Regions from separate parts of the Homo sapiens genome. Here all the other regions are linked to region 1. Evidence: promoter capture Hi-C in 16 types of primary human blood cells and fetal thymus (Javierre and others, 2016). All regions are on one chromosome and are shown on one strand. The core of a region is centred on a gene start or on the middle of the fragment in contact, and the rest is flanking DNA. Distances in the headings are between cores, read along the strand shown. Region 1 holds the start of CHST2 (carbohydrate sulfotransferase 2). Region 2 overlaps SLC9A9 (solute carrier family 9 member A9). Region 3 holds the start of SLC9A9 (solute carrier family 9 member A9). Region 4 overlaps SLC9A9 (solute carrier family 9 member A9). Region 5 overlaps SLC9A9 (solute carrier family 9 member A9).

Region 1 (2,700 bases), core at 201-2,700:
AGCTGAACTGTACTCGTGACATTATGGGTTTTTCTGGAAAACAAGGATAAATAAGTTTTTTGAACATTTTTCTCCCCTGAAACTAAATCCGTAAGAGAGTTAAAAACCCGTGGAAAGCGAGTTAAGTCACTTTTCAAGTCTTTGTACTCAGGGGATTCTGTAAGACTCATGGAAGAATAATGGCGCAAACAGCAATATTTTAATGTTAGAACGGTCCTCTGAAAAGTCTGCCCGAAACGCTACAAAGATAATTGTGCAGTAACTTCTAAAAACTCTACTGGGACAGGAGGCAACAAAACTCCGGATCAGCGAGAGCTCTGTTTATCCGAGGGTGCTGAGCCTCAGGCCCCACGGAGATTCCCTTTTCGGCACTTGGAGGCCTGAACTCAGGTCTAACCTTTCGTGTGCGCGCTCTGATACTCAACCACCGTTCAGTCTCCGGAGGCTGTTACAACTGTCCCCATTCTACAGATGAAGTTGAGGCTACAGCTTAGTGTTCTTGGGGAGGGAGGGAGTTGGGGGGAGAGAGAGACGCTTTTCCTCATAACCTTAAACAAAAGTACTTAAACCTAAAGCAACTGAAAAATGATTTTCTTTCAACAACGGTGTTTCCTTTGGGGTCAAGTTCTTTGATCTCATCTACAAAACCAAGAAGCGGGACAAGTATTTTTCTGCAAATTAGAACGGGGCGTTCCCCTCCCCCATCACCCCAATTCCAGAGGACGTCAATCACAGTGGACGCAGCACCGCGAGCGGAAATGCGGAGAGCATCGGGGCTCCGCATGTGGGGCACAATGAAACAAGAGCAGCCCCGGCCAGAGGTCCAGTAAAGCGGAAAGACGGTCCCGCCCGCACACCCCTCCGGAAAACTGAAGCGTCTCCTCTGACCCCCAAGGTCAGAAAGATTTATTACTTCCTTCGAGAGGGCGCAGCCACAGACCCACTAGAGAGGGCGGGCAGGGTGTCGGAAGCCAGAGAACGGCGCTCCGCGTCCTCCCACCGCTCCAGGGCGCAGAGGTGTCCTCAGTGCCCGGAGAGGTTGGCAGTGTCGGCCCCGAGGGAAGCGTGGAGCGGACGGCCGACAGGGGATTTCTGCCCAAACTTCATCACCAACTCTTTCTGAGAGCAAAAACATGGGGCCGAGTCCGGCAGCTGCACGCAGAATCCAACTCTCTGGCAGCTCTCGGCACCGACGAGCTCCAGATCCCGCGTTCGCATCCCGGCGCTTTGCGCGCAGAGCTAAGCCTTCGGACCCGTGGACTGCAGCCCCCGCGCGTCGCGGTAAAGCGGGTCGCGTCTCCAGCCCCCGAGGCGCAGCGACGGTGGGAGCCGGCTCGGCGTTGGGGGCGGGGGCGGGGCCGGCGAAGGGGGAGGGCTGCGCGGCGGAGGGGAGGAGCCGCGGCGACAGACGGCGGCGCGCACCAACCGGGCGCCGGCTGGCAGGAGCCGCGCAGAGGCTGGTCCGAGCGCGTTGCGGGCGCCCGGCGTAAGGGGAGTCGGGTAGCAGCATCCTCCTGGGCGCCGCTTTCGCGCGGCGGCGGCGGCTGCGGCGGGGTCTTTCTTTGCTTAAATACCTCGTTGGCCAGAAGCGCTGGTACCGGGGGCGGGTTGGGTCGGGTCGGGCAGTGCTGCACACCTGGGTTTCCTTGCCTAGAGCTGTGTGTTCGGGGTCCTTTGGTCCAGTCGGAGGCTGCGGAGCGGCGGGGGTTGCCTGCGCTGTCCGCCCGGGCATCCTCCCGGTGATGGAAGCAGCCGCCGCCGCCGCTGCGGGGTCGCGCTGTGCCCCATCCACCGCTGCCAGAGAGGTGGGAAAATTCGCCGCACGGAGGCCGAAAGCGAGAGGGGCTGCGCCGCTATGCCGGGAGCTGAGTCCCATATAAGCCGCCCCCAGCCATCGCCCCCAGCCGGCTTCGTTCCCCTGAGCGAGACAGGAAGCTGCGGTCCCGAGAAAGCGGAGGAGACGTCGCTGGAGCCGGGAGGCGCCGGGTTCGGCGGAGCGCGGAGCGGGGCTCTGGGCCGCGTGAAAGTTTTTCTTCCCGAGCCGCAGGGCGCCCGCTGCCCGGAAACTGCCCAGGGATAAGTCGGCCGACTCCCCAGACCCCTCGAAGGTGCGGGGACCCCCAGCGGAAGCGAGAGGGAGCGAAATCGAGGAACGAGTGACAGCCGGACAGTCCGCCGGGCGGTGATCCGGGGCCGCTCCCGGGCGCGCCCTCGGCTCCAGGTGAGCGGAGGAACCGGGCAGAACCGAGGGTGGGCGTTACTTAGGAGGAGGAGGCTGGGAGGGAGATTGGGGCGCATCCGCTCACTCCGCTTCCCCTCGCAGGTCCTACCCGGAGCCGCTGCCATGGGAGAGCCAGCCTTGGGCGCTGGGGACCAGCCGCCGCGCCCGCCTCGGAGTCGCGGCCCGAGTCCCGGCGCCAGCAGCCAGCCCGCTGCGTCCCCTTCCCGGGCTGCAGGGCTGCCTCCGCCGCGCCGCCGGCCCGGATTGTGCCTGTGATGAGCCGCAGCCCGCAGCGAGCTCTGCCCCCGGGCGCGCTCCCTCGGCTGCTCCAGGCTGCGCCTGCAGCCGCGCCGCGTGCCCTGCTCCCGCAGTGGCCCCGGCGCCCAGGACGCCGCTGGCCCGCGTCCCCTCTCGGAATGAAGGTGTTCCGTAGGAAGGCGCTGGTGTTGTGCGCGGGCTATGCACTGCTGCTGGTGCTC
Region 2 (2,700 bases), core at 14-2,513, 640 kb after region 1:
AGGGATAGCATTAGGAGATATACCTAATGTAAATGACGAGTTAATGGGTGCAGCACACCAACATGGCACATGTATACATATGTAACAAACCTGCACGTTGTGCACATGTACCCTAGAACTTAAAGTATAAAATAATAATAATAATAACCACCACCATCATACCTAATATCTAAATACATCTTTTCTTTGTAGAATGGTATTTGGGTTATTTTGATGGCCTACCAATTTCATTACAATAGAATTCAACTGGAATCCTTAACAAATAATTAAAATAGCCCCTGATGGAAGATTAACTTCTATATTCCCAAATAAATCTTTGTAATGGGTTGTTTTAGTAGTGTGGTGATCACCAAAGCAATTTCCCCAAGTGAACTATGTTATTTTGAGGGAGACAGAGGCAATAAAACTACCTAGAATTATTTTCTCAAGTTTATCTGAGCTTGCCAGAGCAATTGATACACCTGTGTATGAACACAGCACAAGGAGATTGTCTTCTCCACCCTCCTCAATTTTCAGACGAATATACTGAGGCCTGAAGAACAAGAGTCCCACAATATATGGCCAGTGTGGCACTGTCCTCTGATTCTGCTGGTCTCCCTGATGTAAATCCCTTTACATCCTACCCCTTTGAGAAGGCTGTGTGGCTGACTTTTACAGGTTTCATAACCTTAGAAGTTAAGCTTTTCATGGAAGAACTCAGATCAACTCAGACAAACAGTGGGAAGCAATCAGCGGAATGCCAGGCATTGGGAGGGGAACTTCTGGTCCAGGCTCTGCCATTCACTCAGGTGGGGCCTTTGGACTCCATTTGTGAAAAAGAGGAGGCGATGGAACTATTGGCCATAAGGTCTTCATGACATCCTGGAGAGTCCTTATATGTCTGTAGAAGAGCCAGCTAGCCCCACTGCTTAGGCTTTTGGTGGCAGCTTCTAGTGGCTCTCTTACCCAGTGTGCAGCACTGGAAATGCATATGTTCTTATGACCAAAGGAGTTCATGACCCTCTTCCTTCAGAACCCAGGTGACATGCATGAGAGTCAACCCACAATGGCATTCAAATATCTGTCAGTAATTATAGCAAGAGCCATTTAGTTCACAGCCTTAGAAATTTACATCCCTCTACTTTTTTCATCTTGACTTTATCTTATTTACTAGACTAGGAACAAAGGAATTTTGAGTTGACAGAATCCAATCATCTGAGTTAAGGTAAATGTCATTATAAACAAATCAGTTCAAATAATTGATGTGTTATTTTGTCACTGTGATTTTAAAGAAAAGCACAAGCCCCTTCCAGTTCTCTTTGATAATAAAATACCATCATGGATTTGTACACTCCTGGTTTCTGGTATCAATTCAGCCTCCTGTGATAGGTGTTACTAAAAACCTTTGAAGAACTTGTTTGTACATGCCAGATTTTCTTTAATATACCAACCAGTAAGTAATTCTACTCTGCAGTCTTTCAAAAAAAGCTAGAAAAATGAAGCAAAAAGCAAAATAAAATGTTTGATTTTTTTTTTTTTCACATTTCTTTTTGTCATAAACCATGGAATATGGCTCAGGATCTCCATCTAGTGGAATCTTTAAGGTGAGAACTCTGTTGTAAAATCTCTTAGTCCTGGAAAGTTGGGGATAGGGCCATTAAATAAGACAAATAATTTTTTTTCTACACACATGCATTTATTGAGAGTCTAATATGATAAGTGTGTGTTGCTTCTTTTTAACTAGGAGAATCCATATTTCCTGGGTTACCATTAATAGGTCAGTCTCTACTAAGGTCTCCAAACCATGAAAGACCATCACATGTCATTTTGTTTACAGGGATAACTGGGTTCTTCCTTCTTCTCTTTCCCAAGCTTATATTATAGAATTTCACTTCTTTTTTAAAAAATCCACTCTGACAGGGTAAGGAAAGGGAAAGGAAAAACCTCAGGAAAAGCCATTTTTCTTCTAGTTGTTAATTCTCATCAAGAGTCTGATGGAGAAAGTTGTTGAGGTATATAACATACAATGTGAGCTCTCTCAGTTATGTCAAAGAGTCATAATAAGTCATGCTGTCTATGTCATGCCCCCACCCATCTGCTTCTCAGGGTGAACATACCCTATTTCTGTGCAGCAGACTGGAGAAATTTCAATGATAGCGTATCACTTTCCAGATAGAACACTTCTAATTCTTTCCGTCCTTGGAATGTAATATATGCAATTCAACTTATATTCCCACAAGCAGTGCCAACTGCTGCCCTCAGAGTAACTTTTGGAAAACTATTAGATGCACAGTCACCACCTCATGTGGCCACCCCAGTGATCTAGAAAGGCTAAGAATTCCTTCCCTGAATTTTGTATCTTTTCTTCATTATGTCTGGGTTTGTTTGTTGGTTTTGAGGCAGGGTCTTGCTCTGTTGCCCAGGCTACAGTGCAGTGGTGTGATAATGGCTCATTGTAGCTTTGAACTCAAGTGATTCTCCTATTCAGCCTTCCAAATAACTGGGACTACATCATGCACTACCATACCCAACTATTTTATTTATTTATTTATTTATCTATCTATCTTTTGTAAAGATCGGGTCTCACTATGTAGACCAGACTGGTTTCTAACTCCTGGCCTCAAGAGATCCTCCCACTGTGGCCTTCCAAAATGCTGGGATTATAGGTGCGAGCCACCAGGCCTGGCCATGTCTGGTATTTTGTTTCATGTGTATGAGTCC
Region 3 (2,700 bases), core at 3-2,502, 730 kb after region 1:
TATTTGCTATAAATTATAGCAATGCCTTGCCTGTTGCCATTGTGTTCAAACTTCCTATCCATTATCAGGCTGAGATAAGAGCAGTGAAGTAAACTATTTCATCAGTAACACCAGTAAAAACTGGTGTCTTTCATTTTACTTTAAAAGATGAGAGTACAGACAGATAATCTCTGTCAGACTTTATTAAACTTTCTGAAAGGAATGATACGGTAAGTTGCCCAGAAAGAGCAATACTGCAGGTGTTAAATATTTTTCCACACCTTGGCCTCCAATACATAAATAGGAGATACATAACAAATAACACTAGCAATGATCATTATAAATTAGAACATCTGAAATCAGGCTAAGAAGTAAAAAGTACTGCATAAAGAAACTCTCGTTTATTTATAACTTTTTATTATAAGAAAATAAGACACTGTTCGTATAAATAAAAAGGACTTGGACACAATATTCTCTTAAGAGGGGTGGGGTTAGTTTCTGCAAGTTTTCTTCTTGAAATTAGTTGATATAAGAGGAATTACTCCAGGCATTTTGAAGTGATGTTTTTTCTAGAACTTCGTAATGTTCATCGGTGCAGCCAGTGAGAGAAGGCTGCTCTTTGTGACTGCAGAGCCATCACTTCCCAACATCATTACAAAAACAAACAGCTCGCCCTCGACTCCCCACATGACAATGGACCCGCATCTGTCAACAGACTTGCATTATGTGCCGTGTGAGAACATGACTGTGACATTTGCTCTCGTGACATGGCAAATTTCGGCGGCTTGTCTGTAAAGAGATTAGCATTCGTTACGCTGCAGCACCTTTCATCAAACTAATGACATTTCAATCAGCACATTTTCTCCAGTTTCGGTACTTTGCTATCTGAGCACAAGTCTCTAATTACGCTCAAGCAACAAGTTTCACATCAATCTCACAATTTATGCACTCACCATACACCATTGCTCCTCCAGTTTCATGCAAGAAGCGGAATCGATGATTTTTAAATAACCAGATTGTCAAAATGGTAAGGATGAGCAAAAAATTGAAGACAAGCAGCTCCACCGCTCCCTGATGTTGAAACTGATACTCATCCTTTTCTGACATAACCCTTGACTGTCTCTCCATTCCCCAGTCTTCTTGGGATTCCTTAGATAAAAACCTGGATAAAGGCTATTTTATCAAGATTTGCCTAAGACAGTCTGACTGCCTGAGAATTTCAGAAGAAACACTGCCACTTTAGTTGCTACTTCACAAGCATTCTGCCCTGGCTTAGTATTCAGATGGCTTCTAGTTACAACTTCCTGTTTCTCTCTTAAAGCAGCCCTGTCTCTTTTCAAACTCGAGAGTGTGTGGTTTCATCACTGACTCTTAATGTCTTTAAGTGATTCATCTCATGAAAATATCTTTCATACTGGACAAATCTGCAAGCAATGATGCTAAGATCTTGAATCACGGTCTTATTATTCCAAATAAGTCTTCTTAAGCTGCATAAATATGAACTGTAGATTAATAATAAAAAAGGTAGCCTTACACTAGCAACGTTTTCTAAGTTCAAAAAGCCAATTCCTGACTCAACTTCACCTAAATGCAAGATCTTTCCTCTCTAACCAAGACCTGCCAAAGTGATGGGGATTGATAGCACAGTTATCAATCAGCCTCTGTGCTCTAAATGGATCAGCATATTAGCCTCCTGAAAAGATATTACACTGCTTAGCCTGAAACTTCCGCCTCATAGCTCAAGTATCTCACAATGGGATTCACTTAAGGCATAGGGTTTCTTATAGGGTTTCTTATGCTCTCAAATCATGACTGTACATTGGTTAAGCAAACCTAAAGTGATTTCACAGGATTTTTTTTTTTTTTTTTTAGTTGAGAAGCAAGAAAGGATTTAGTATATGACTCTATTTGGCTTTATATAATTGATAGTTGCAGAGCAGCCTTTAAACTCTAAATCAATTGTTTTTCTTTTAACAAGAGAAAACAATGAAAGCAAAAGACAAATAAAATTCCATCCCCATCTCTACAACTGTACTGTTTGGATACGTTGAGACAAAAAAGAAAAAAAACAAAACACATTACTTCGAAAGAGAAACTCACGCAGCCATCCTCAGCAACGCCACATGCATGGATTTCTCTTTGTAGGGTTCCTGGTCTCGGCATCCAGGACCCACAGAAATCTGCAATAGATCACAACCTCCTCTGTCCTATGGCAAAACAATGTTGCTCACTGAGAAATGGTTCTGCCACCAGAAATGAAAGCTCTGTATTCACAGGATTCTGATCATAAGAGTGATGATTCTTCAGATCATCTTCCATGTGGCAGGTTGCTCCTGTCTGATTTCATATTTTTCTACTTTAAAATAGTTCAAGATAATACCATGGGTTCTGCAGCTTTTTTTTCCTTTTCTTTCTTTTTTCTTAGCAAATATTATGACCTGCTTGCTTTTAACACTTGATCCTATAACACATTTGGGTATATCCTGGGGTTAGCTGATTTTTTTTTTCATTTTACCATATCATTGTAATTTGGGAGTATTAATCACTTATGATCCCCATTTTGACACAATTAATGCTCAATTTATACAATGTGATTTCTTATTGAGTAGGCTGAGCCCAAATGCGTCCTGAAACAATTTTTGTCACTAAAAGCTAAAGGTCAAGCATGTAATATTATTGGGAGCTAACTACCTCCTCAACAAACAGTTTCACCATGAGAGC
Region 4 (2,700 bases), core at 16-2,515, 520 kb after region 1:
AAGGAACCAACCAATTCTGTCACCATGAAAAAACAGTGTTGTAACACCCCTCAAGGATCACACTAGCTCTCTAGTGATGGATCTTATCCAAAATGAAAATTCTAAAATGACAGATAAAGAATTCAAAATATGGATCATAAGGGAGTTCAACGAGATCCAAGGGGAAGTTGAAAACCAATACAAAGAAATCTGAAAAACAATTCAAGATATGAATGAAAAATTTACTACAGAGATAGATATTTAAAGAAAGCACAAAACTCTGGAAATGAAAAATTTACAGATGGAATTACAAAATACAGTTGAAAGCTTTAACAATAGATTAGACAAAGCAGAAAAATTTCAAAGCTTGACTACATATCTTTTAAATTAACCCATTCAGACAAAAATAAAGCAAAAAGAATGTAAAAACTGAACAAAGGCTTTGATAAATATGGATTTTCCTATTTTGAATTTCTATGATTTATATTTCAAATTTCAGCTTATCCCTGTTTTGTAGATATAATAGCCATTTATATACACCTTAGTAAGTATATATGCTTTGGGCTTTAGTTTTCTATAATGTTGTTTCCCCTTAAAGTTGATCTTATTTGCTTTTATAATCTATAGCTTTAGCGTAACTGACATCTAAAATCTCAACAGGTTTTTATTTTTTAAAGGTGAGAATAGATATGTATACTAAAGTTGCCATCTTGATGAAATGAGAAAACCAACTTAAAGAGGTTGACTGACTTGCTCATTGGTATAAAACTAGTAAATAATAAAGTCAGAATCCAGACTGCCAACCCAACCTTTACTTCTCCATGGAGAAGTAAAACACATACTTTCCACATCTGAGGTTATGTTCTAAGATTAAAGTTTTTCCATGAAAACTTGTATTAGAATTACTAATGAAAAGAAAGCCAACTGCATACATGCATATATTTTTCTACTTTTCCTAACTTTTTCTTATAAGTTATGCTAATGAAAAGGCTAAAAGTGAACAGCTATAAGAACAATAAACAATATCTGAAAATTTAAATAGTCAACTGTTACATAAGTAAGAATTAACTCTGCCAAGAAGTTTTTCTGAGTTCCATAAAAAGCAAAGTAGGCGGGTGAGAATGGGAATGGGGGGTAAAAATGAAAAAGGATAAACCTCAAAACACATTAGGGTAAGAATTTAATTTAATGGCCCAAAATATAGCATGCTCACCTTAATGTCATTAGATCAAATTTGACCATTTAACTGCCATTCTGAAAATAAGCCATTTGGCACAGACTTTAGAATTTGACTTTCATATATCCAATTTGAATTAATTGCCTTTAGAAAAAACAGATGAAACTACATCATGATTCTGATATTGCAGGATAATGCCAGGAAGAGGGGAGTCTAAATTCTATGTGAGTTATTTCATCTAATAATTTAGTGGGCATTCACTCTAACTTTTGAAATGAGAAACTCTTGCTGTGAATCCATGAAGAACTTCTAAATGGTGAAAGAATTTCCTCCTTTTTCCTTCAATACTGCCTGCCATTCTGGCAACGGGAAAAGTGATATATTTGAGGACCCCTGGGGCAGGAAAATTGATAAGAGCTCCTGACTTCTTTCCCATAAACAACCAATATTTTAAAGCTATTAACAAGGGAGCTAGGCATTCAAAGACAGTTCATTTATCTTCCAATAGCTGGCAAGGGTGTCAGGCCCTGCAGTCAGGCACAGAAAAATGGGCCCTGAATTCACCCTCTATTGCTGAACAGCTGCTCTTTCCCAAGGTTTTAATCAGATTCCCTAAGCATCCCATGCCCCAGTAAGGCAGAGCCCACATAAAACTGGCAATAAGCCTGTCTTGTAAATTCATTACAAAGCTCAAGTAATATGAGCAGATTATATTCTCCAGGCCAAGAGAGAGCTTTTAATTTAGACCAAAATTATTATTGCATATTGATTTGGCCCCTTGTTCTCTGGAAAGTTTTTTCTTAGAAAAAATCCAGACTTGGTCACCTGAAATAAAAGACATTTTCTTGGTTGTTCAGAATGAGAAGTCAGGTTTAAGTGTATTAGAAAGAAAATATGTCTTTGGATGAAAAATTCTTAATTCAGAGCCCCAAAACTATTTATAGAGTTTTGTCTTTTTGTTTAGCTGCACCTACCCTCCACCCCCTGAAGTGAGAGCCATAGCTTCCTTTAACTCTTGACTTCTGACCCAAAAGCTTAGTATGCAGTATTTTAGATTATGTTATTAGAAGCGAGTGTGGCAACCTTTGGAAATCTTTCCTTGCATGAGGCAGAAGTCAAGATTGGTTCTTCTCATAGACAGCCTGATGCCTAGCTATCAACTACTATCTGTTAGTAGGCACTAGCATGGGCATTCATGCCTCTGGTTACAACAGAGGGAATGAGAGGGAATCACTATCAACCCCTGACCAGATATTAAAGGACATTAGAGACAAATGACACTGATGCATCATGACAAAAGTATACTGTATCAATTAGAAAAAGGATTGGGTAGTCATAAAAGAATCACAGAATCAAACACTGCTAGTCTTCTTCCCAGCTTTGTGTAGTACTGAGAGGGCCAAATTTTATCATCTTACTAAAAGTGAGCAGTTTTTAATTATCCTGAATGTTGGTATGGATTTAGGAGGTCATTACCAAGCACTTCAAAATTTCAAAGACCCATTGGATAAACAACAGCTTTTGTGTGAAGGATGAGGATAAAC
Region 5 (2,700 bases), core at 68-2,567, 560 kb after region 1:
CTGGTCTTGTGCTTCCTAGGCCAATACCACACTGATTTGATTATAATGGCATTGTAGTATATTCTTACATCTGATTAGGTAGGTTACCTCATGGTTTTATTCCACTTTATAAGCTTTAAGATAATTTTATCCAGTTTCAATGTTTAAAGTGGTAAGTTTTCATTGAAATTACCTTAAATTTTTGTATGAATTGGAGGAAAGTAGAATTTTCATGAAAGCTTTCTTCTCATCACCAAGATGGTGAACTATAATAGCATCGGCTACTGCTTTCCTCCACAAAGTCAATGATGAAGAAAGTATATAGAGAAAAGTGGAATTGAAACTAATAACAACAAAAGCCATGAGAAATCCCCAGGGAGAAGGAGCACTGTTTTGGATTGATGTGTGTGGGAAAGAGGTGAGAGGGGTGGGAAAGAGGTGAGGGGGGTGGGAAGAGTGCAGCAAATCTGGCAATGGGCGGCTACACACAGCAGTAAAAAAAAGCAAATTAGGAAAACAAACAAACAAACAAACAAAAACTGTTTAAGCTCTGCCATTTGGCTTACTTGCATTTCCATGGAGTAATCATTGCTTAGCTCCTTGCCACACAAAGCATGCACAACTGGCTAAACACTGGGGCAGGTGTTCATGGGGGAAATGTCAGGATCAGTGCAAAAGGTTTTGTGAGGTAAGGAGTTGATAAGAACAGGTAGAGACTGAGCAGCCTTAGGCATTCTCTTTCCCTACAAATCCTAGGCTGATGGATTATCAATGTTGCTTCTCCCTTAGGGCCTAAACCCCAACCTGAGAAGTTGGCTAGGCAGGGTTTCTCAACCTTGGCACTATTGATATTTTAGACCAGACAATTACCTGCAGTTGGGGGCCGTCTAGTGCGTTTTCAAAGTTTAGCAGCATCCCTGCCCTCTACCCGTCCAATGCCAGTAGTGCATTCCCCCAGCTGTAACTAGCAAAAAATGTCTCCACAGTTAATGTGTTCTGAGGCTTAACATCACTACCCTGGGTTAGTGGGATGACGGCAAATGAAAATGATAACTGTAGTTTTGAGGCCCTTCTCCAATACGTATTGCCAATTCAATAGTTGATACTCCTAAAGGAACATGAGCAAAAGTGAAAAATAGCTAGACACCTGAGGGTTATGACAACTTAGAGAAAATCAACAAACAAAAAACGGAAGTATTAGAATAGATACATAAAACATTTTCAATAAGTATACTAAATACACTTAAAGAGACAGAAGAAAATTAAATAAAAGGAAATATCAGGTATGAAAAACATAGCAGAAAAAAATTATAACAGATGGAATAAATAGGATAATGGATACAACTGAAGAAATAATTTAGATAATGGGAAACCTGATTGAGGAACTCCTCCAGCAGGAAGCAAGACAGATTGAAGAGATAAAAGTACAATTTTAAAATGTTAGGAGACATGAGAGATAAAAATAGAGGTGCAACATATAGATAATACGAGTACCACTAGATTAAAATAAAAATGAAGAGAAATAAATATTTGAGAGAATAAAAAAGAAAATAACTTTGAATCTATACTTTTATGTCTAAACAAATTGCTATTGAATATGAGGGTATAATTAAAATTTTTCAGGCATACAAGGCTTTGGAAAGAATGTCACACATAAACTGACATTAAAAACATTTTTGAATGATGTATTCAAATAGAATGAAAAATTTAGAAACTGCTGGAAGGTTTATGAAAAGTAACAGGGATTATATAGTTTGCTAAAGTTTTTCATTGTTTAAAAAGTACTCCATGAAAAAAATCTAGGAGGAAGAAAAAGATAAAGTATGTCCATAATTAAATCTTCCCATTCTAGAGCATGACTTTTCATTTGTTCATATCTTGTTTTACATTTTATATCCCTTAAAATATTATACCTTTATTCTTTATTAAAATTAGTATCAAATAGTTGTAAGTTTTATAGATATTGAATTTTATTTCTAGAAACTTGCTGCTAAATTTTTTAAATGCTATTGGATTTTGTATATTTATCTTATACTCGGGCACCTCACAAAATTTCGTTTTTAATTCTAATAGTTTTTTAGAATAGAGTAACATCAACAAAAATGGCAGCTTTATTTCCTAATTTCTACTTTTATGTGATGTTTTATTTTCTTTCATTTTCTTACCGAATTTGCTAGAACTTCTATGCCAGTATCTTCTATTTTTCCCTTTACACATTCTCTGCTTTGGGACACTGACCACGTGAACTACATCAATAAGTTCCCATGCCCTCTAGCTTCTCATTGGATTTGGCCAATGAGAAGCCCCAGAAGATATCAGAGGAGGGGCAGAAAGGAAGACTTAGGTATTTATTCCCTGACATTTTCCCCCTGAAATGCTACCTTGAACTAAAAGTGTCCCTGAACAGGTTATCGCTCTCCACCAGGTGACATATTCCACAAGCTTTCTCCCACTGAATTCTAATGACCACTCTCTCCTCTTGTTGCTTTGAACCTAAGAGTGATAACTGTTTGGCTACTCCCAAGCTCCAGATGCCTGCACTATTCTTTGTAGTTCTTCTACAAATAAACTTTGCAACAAGTCCTCTATAAATAAAACCTTCTTGAATTATCCAGTTTCAAGTTTTCATTTAGAATAATATTTGGTATTAGATTTTGGTAAATACTTTGAATTATATTTAAACAGTTTTTTTTTACTTAGAATTTTTATTAGTAACGCTGC

The links. The method cuts DNA at HindIII sites, captures the fragments that hold promoters and counts their contacts. A CHiCAGO score of 5 or more calls a contact.
Region 2: a contact is called between a fragment that was not itself captured here and the fragment with the promoter of CHST2 in region 1, in 1 of 17 cell types (fetal thymus). The highest score is 8.2, in fetal thymus.
Region 3: a contact is called between the fragment with the promoter of SLC9A9 here and the fragment with the promoter of CHST2 in region 1, in 2 of 17 cell types (total CD8 T cells and non-activated CD4 T cells). The highest score is 6.9, in total CD8 T cells.
Region 4: a contact is called between a fragment that was not itself captured here and the fragment with the promoter of CHST2 in region 1, in 1 of 17 cell types (erythroblasts). The highest score is 5.3, in erythroblasts.
Region 5: a fragment that was not itself captured here is called in contact with the fragment with the promoter of CHST2 in region 1 in 1 of 17 cell types (fetal thymus); the score reaches 6.0 in fetal thymus.

Annotation. Positions count from the first base shown.
Region 1 is chr3:143,118,321-143,121,020 of GRCh38, forward strand. It overlaps CHST2 (carbohydrate sulfotransferase 2), which reads left to right and starts at 1,451. Exons shown (of 2, transcript NM_004267.5): 1 at 1,451-2,221; 2 at 2,324-2,700. The coding sequence starts at 2,497. RefSeq lists enhancers at 507-1,008, 684-813, 1,009-1,508, 1,794-1,843, 2,167-2,700 and silencers at 1,274-1,563, 2,054-2,103, 2,134-2,183, 2,234-2,313, 2,374-2,573 and 1 more. The HindIII fragment of the contact is 4,891 bases long and covers 1-2,700 here.
Region 2 is chr3:143,762,210-143,764,909 of GRCh38, forward strand. All of the region lies in intron 4 of SLC9A9 (solute carrier family 9 member A9), which reads right to left. Among named protein-coding and RNA genes, the nearest start is that of SLC9A9, 85 kb to the right of the region's middle. The HindIII fragment of the contact is 1,171 bases long and covers 679-1,849 here.
Region 3 is chr3:143,847,216-143,849,915 of GRCh38, forward strand. SLC9A9 (solute carrier family 9 member A9) reads right to left here and starts at 1,253. Exons shown (of 16, transcript NM_173653.4): 1 at 933-1,253. The coding sequence starts at 1,107. The HindIII fragment of the contact is 4,941 bases long and covers 1-2,700 here.
Region 4 is chr3:143,637,044-143,639,743 of GRCh38, forward strand. The region is part of intron 6 of SLC9A9 (solute carrier family 9 member A9); the gene reads right to left. All of the region lies in intron 1 of LOC102724120 (a long non-coding RNA gene), which reads left to right. Among named protein-coding and RNA genes, the nearest start is that of SLC9A9, 210 kb to the right of the region's middle. The HindIII fragment of the contact is 1,845 bases long and covers 344-2,188 here.
Region 5 is chr3:143,678,634-143,681,333 of GRCh38, forward strand. The region is part of intron 5 of SLC9A9 (solute carrier family 9 member A9); the gene reads right to left. Among named protein-coding and RNA genes, the nearest start is that of SLC9A9, 170 kb to the right of the region's middle. The HindIII fragment of the contact is 2,203 bases long and covers 217-2,419 here.